Linked DNA regions of Homo sapiens: region 2 is linked to region 1. The links are contacts of gene promoters, found by promoter capture Hi-C in blood cells and fetal thymus (Javierre and others, 2016). All regions are on one chromosome and are shown on one strand. The core of a region is centred on a gene start or on the middle of the fragment in contact, and the rest is flanking DNA. Distances in the headings are between cores, read along the strand shown.

What was found. Contacts are between HindIII fragments. The CHiCAGO score rates a contact against its expected background, and 5 or more counts as called.
Region 2: a fragment that was not itself captured here is called in contact with the fragment with the promoter of NPPC in region 1 in 1 of 17 cell types (endothelial precursors); the score reaches 7.0 in endothelial precursors.

What each region holds. Positions count from the first base shown.
Region 1 is chr2:231,924,946-231,927,645 of GRCh38, reverse strand. It overlaps NPPC (natriuretic peptide C), which reads left to right and starts at 1,250. Exons shown (of 3, transcript NM_024409.4): 1 at 1,250-1,486; 2 at 1,931-2,241. The coding sequence starts at 1,397. The coding sequence ends at 2,221. RefSeq lists an enhancer at 1-560 and silencers at 962-1,181, 2,137-2,186, 2,267-2,356. The HindIII fragment of the contact is 15,333 bases long and covers 1-2,700 here.
Region 2 is chr2:232,116,226-232,118,925 of GRCh38, reverse strand. The region is part of intron 6 of DIS3L2 (DIS3 like 3'-5' exoribonuclease 2); the gene reads right to left. Among named protein-coding and RNA genes, the nearest start is that of MIR562, 55 kb to the left of the region's middle. The HindIII fragment of the contact is 2,551 bases long and covers 128-2,678 here.

The DNA of each region.
Region 1 (2,700 bases), core at 1-2,500:
TTTGTTCTCTCTCCAGCCTGCGTCCTGCTCAGCAGCAGCCAGTCATAGATTCCTGCTCTTCAATCAATTCGGGGGATCTGGGCTCTCCGCCTCTGCGGCCCACACCGCAGTGCCCAAATGCCCACCACACTCCTTAGTGTCCAAGGGACCGAGAAGCCCAGTGCAAGGAGAGCAAGTTCGTGAGTGGTAGGGATATGTGGCCATGTCCCGAGAGCCACGGGGACCTCTCTACAGTCAAAAACGGGAAGTTGACCACCTGTCACGGCTGGCAGAGGCTGGACTGGGCCGCTGGCTAGGAAGCTCTCTCCCCAGCCTGTGAAAGTGCACAGGATACTGGAGCGGGCTTCCCCCAGCAGCGGATCCTCGCGTGGGTGCAGGCAAGGTCAGGTGCGCATTGTTCCCACAGAGGGAGTTCACCAGCGGAGTCAGACCCCGGGACGTTCTGTGTGGCCGAAACCGGCTGAACGTGAACCTAGAGCAGTAACTGGCGAGCATACGATGCCGCGGAGCACACGCATGAGCATGAATATCTTGGTTCCGCGCTCGCAGTCCCCTCGTTCCCGCCTTGCGCTCAAACACTCAGGCTGGCGACACCCCTGCACTCTCCAGTGTGGAAGACTTGCGCTCCCCCCTGCGGCCCAGGCGAACCCCGCTCTCCCTGCGCCTCCCACCCCAGTCCTCCAACCCCATCCTCTGCCTCCCCAACCTAACGACGTCGCTGTGGTCTGCGCTCCCGCCCTGACCGGCAGGTGAAAGGCGGAGCTGCAATGCCATCCCGCGGCTGTCAGGTGCCCAGGGAAGAGTTTGGCGACAAGCAGGGCTGCGTGGATTTCGGGCAGCGCCAACTTTATGCCTGTATGACTTTGGGCAAGTGACTTCATTCCTCTGAGCCTGTCTTTGCACCTGCAAAGAGGGCTACGTATCCCTTCCAGGTAGAGTGAGTGCGATGAGGACCTAGTGGGTGCACAGGGCACCAGGCGCACCGATGCTCGGCAGGCCAGGGCGCGCGCTCGCTGCAAATGGAGTTCCCCTGTGCGCTCAGCTCTGCAGCTCCAAGTGCAGCCTGGAGCGAGCCCGCCGAGCCGCGGGATCCCTCCGGGGTGGGATAAGGGAGGGGAGCCCCCGCGGCCCCCTCCCGGCCCTCGGCGCGGCCGCGTGCGTGGTGTCATTGGCCCGGGCGGCCCGGTGGGCGGGAGGATGACATCAGCGGCAGGTTGGATTATAAAGGCGCGAGCAGAGTCACGGGCTCAGAGCGCACCCAGCCGGCGCCGCGCAGCACTGGGACCCTGCTCGCCCTGCAGCCCAGCCAGCCTGCTCCGCATCCCCCTGCTGGTCTGCCCGCCGACCTGCGCGCCCTCGCTGCCGCCCGTGTGCGCCCCTCGACCCCAGCGGCACCATGCATCTCTCCCAGCTGCTGGCCTGCGCCCTGCTGCTCACGCTGCTCTCCCTCCGGCCCTCCGAAGCCAAGCCCGGGGCGCCGCCGAAGGTGGGTGCTGTCGTGGGGACGCCGAGCCTGGGAGAGGCGTGGGAGGCTGGGGGCTTGGAGAATGCGGCGCGCAGGACCCAGGAGAGAGGGAAGGCAGGCGGCTGTCTCCTCCGAGATGCGCGTGGGCGAGAGCCGGGGAGCCCTCGAAGCGCGGATTCGGGGGTCCACTTCTCCAGCCTCCGGAGAACATCGGCCCATGCGCAGCCCCCTACCCCAGTGTGGCCTGCCCGGCGAGCAGCAAAGGGAGGGCAGGGGGCTTCCGGAGGGAGCGGCGAAGGCGGCCGCGTGGCAGGTGGATGCGGGGCCAAGCTGGCCGGCATCGGTGGGGGCGGCTCTGGGCTTGGGAGGGACACCCCGCGCCGGCGGGCGCGTGGGGCTGGAGCATCAGAGTCCCCCGTGCTGCAGCCGCGTGTCCCTTCACCTGCCCGCTCTTTCCTCGGACAGGTCCCGCGAACCCCGCCGGCAGAGGAGCTGGCCGAGCCGCAGGCTGCGGGCGGCGGTCAGAAGAAGGGCGACAAGGCTCCCGGGGGCGGGGGCGCCAATCTCAAGGGCGACCGGTCGCGACTGCTCCGGGACCTGCGCGTGGACACCAAGTCGCGGGCAGCGTGGGCTCGCCTTCTGCAAGAGCACCCCAACGCGCGCAAATACAAAGGAGCCAACAAGAAGGGCTTGTCCAAGGGCTGCTTCGGCCTCAAGCTGGACCGAATCGGCTCCATGAGCGGCCTGGGATGTTAGTGCGGCGCCCCCTGGCGGCGGTGAGTACGGCCCACCCGACGCCCAGCCCCAGCCCGGCCCGGGACCGCCCGCCGCCCAGCCGGCCTTCGGAGGCGCGCGAGCCGCCTTTGCTCAAGTTGTGCTAGGCGTTTGCCAGCCGCCCCCTTTATTATCCCACTTTACAGACAAAGAAAGCGAAGGATAACGTGATCGGGGAACTTTGGCAAGGTCAGAAACGGCTCAGCCTGGTTGAACCCACCTGGCTTCTTCTGGAGAAGCAGAAACAGGCTTGGTGGTGTCTCACCCACCCCTGAACCGTAGCTGAACTAGCAGCACTGGCCCCTATTGGCCAGCTGGTGGGGGGATTGAGAGGAGATCATGGGTTTGTGGGAGCAGAGAAGGAAGGTTACACCCACAAGTCCAGGGGACATCGATCATCTGCTGGCCACCATGCCCCCTGTAGTGAGAGTAGCCCTCTGCTGGCACTGTCAGAGCGCCCT
Region 2 (2,700 bases), core at 154-2,653, 190 kb before region 1:
CAGATAGCATCATTTCTGAGATCCACGAAGGCCCCTAGGAAAAACACAACAATGCACTACTCAGAAACAGCTAATGTTTGATGCATCTTTGATGGAAAATTGCTTCTCTTTTACAAGGTAACAAGCTTCAGCTCTAAGTGCAAATCAGGCTAACATGGACCACTCCAGCCAGGTTACATAGACATGAATGAGTCACTGCTTTTGATGCCAAATTGGCAAATCTGAAGGTTTTACAATGGATGCTATATGGCTATTGTGGAGAAAAATACTCAGGAATTAAACATGAGAGCAACTGGCTTGGTCCTTCTTTAGTTTCAAAGGGTGGAAAGAAGGAGTGCCTTCTGCACAACAGTTGCTAAATACAAGACTGTTGTGGGGTTGCAAGTGGATGATTAAAGATGAGCAAAAACGGTTACATGAGAAAAAAGTTTTTAAGTCAATTGTAAAAACACCAGCCATGAATTGTAAACTGGAAAAAATACGTTGTTATAAAGAAGACTCACAAAAGGAAAAGATCACACACTTGGTTGGAAGAAATAAGTAAAGGCTGATAGAGGAACCATCTGTGACAAGCAGACTCTACTATGGTCCCCAATAATCCCCCACCCTCTTGGTCTTCATGCCCTGTATGATCACCCCTACCTGAGTGTGGGCGGGACCTGGGACTTGTTTCTAACCAACGAAATATTGCAGAGATGATGCCCTGTCACTTCCATGATTAGCTTCCATAAGACCGTGACTTCCATCGTGCCAGCTGACTCTCTGGATCTGATAAAGCATGCGGCCACATAGAGAGGCCCATGGAGCAGGCAGCGGAGGCAGCAAGGAGCTGAGGTCATCAGTCCAAGAGCCCACAAGGAACTGGATCTGGCCAATAATCACAAAAGCCTGGAAGCAGATCTTTCCCCAGTCTGCCTTCAGAAAACTGACACCTTGACTACAGCCTTGTGAGGAACTCTGAAGTAGGGGACCCAGAAGGGCCCTATCCAGATTCCTGACCTACAGAAACTGTGAGATAATAAATGTGTTGGTTGAAGCCACTAAGTTTGTGGCTATTTGTTACACAGTGAGAGATACCTAATACACATCTAAAATGACAGTTTACATTTGAAGAATGGGAGGCCTTTTCACAGGAGATGGCGAACTAGGTGGCATTCATGTCAGAAAAGATAAAGCACAGCCACACAAGGACAGAAGAGGAAAGGGAGTGCTCAGGAACAATACGGAGCCTGGTTAGGCTGGCCCTGAGGTCTGAATGGGCAGATGCAAGAGCAAAGGTTGGAGAGGCAGGGAAGAGGCCCCTGGTGGGCAAGGGGAGCCAGAGAGTCATTAAAGCTCATCACTGACACCATGTGGTCTGAGAACTTCTGCAGGAAGATTCATTTGACACTTGCTAGTTCAAGAGGTAACAGGCTTCAAAAAATGGTTTGGAAAATTCCCATAACAAAATGCTACGCTTTACTCTTTTTAAGGTGCTTTCCCTTCCATTACCTCACTTGATCTATGCAAGAATCATCTGATTTACGTAAGAACCTGTGAAGTAACCAAGACAAGTATTTATTATGAAGGTTTCATACAAATAAGGAAAATGAAGCACTAAGAGGTAAGAATGACTGGCAAAAGCTCTTGTTTAGTACTGTTTTGTCCTACTAAGAGTGCTGCCACATTTTGTTGGATCCCCCTTCCCTGATGGAGAGGTGAACAGAGCTAGCCAGGCAGGTTTGGATCCTGGCCCCACTACACCAGGGTCGGCCCAGAGAGCATATTCATACCTGGAAGAAAAGGTGCAATGAGGCCTGGGTGAACTGCAGAGTCATGGGTGCAGTAGTCTAAAGTGCAGAAGCAGGTACCAAAGGGGCTCTGAAACAGGGCTGAAATGAGTGTCAGAGCCAAGGGGAGCAGCCACATGAGGGTTAGCTAGCTGAGGAGCAGAGATGTGGGACTTCACAGTGCAGCTGAACTTTTGTTCAAGGGACTAGACAAAAGCTATGAAGCGTGGACGGCTGGTTCCACTTACAGGAACAGGGGTGGCATATTCATTCTTTAATGTTTTGAGTTGGGTGGGGTTTTTGTTGTTGTTGTTGTTGTTGTTCTTTTTGTTTGTTTTTTGTTTGTTTTAAGCATTATCTGAAAACCAGGGACAGTTTTCAATTGTAAAATGTTAAATAAGATCTGTCCTTAATGGCGGACATTCTATAGCCAGAGTAGGGCAGCTGTCAGTTCCCTCTCCCCATTCAGAGCCACACGACCCAGTTTTTAGCCAATAGGCTTGGCTAGACTCTTCAATAGCTTTTTAAAAATCTCAACAGGTTATAACCATCATTACTCCAAGTCTATTAGTCAGGCAAAGATTTCCCTTGGCATGTTGTTGCATGACTTGAAAAACCTAGTTGAGAATTCTCTAAGGAGAACGGGAATTATTTAGAGTGATCCAAAGAAGAATCAATGACAGTAGGATGAACTTGTAGGCAAGGATAATTCCACATAGTGACCATGAAAGGGTCTCTAACAAAGGAAAAAATACATAAACCTTAAAGACACGGGTAAAACACCAGTTACCCAAAAGGCTTCATTACTCAACTGAATAAACCCAGCATATGCTGACCAAAGGGATGAAAAGGGAAGAGCTACTTGACTGGCTCGAGCCTTCCCTTCTTGAGCTCTGAAGACCTGAAGCTTAACTTCACAATAGTATTCATC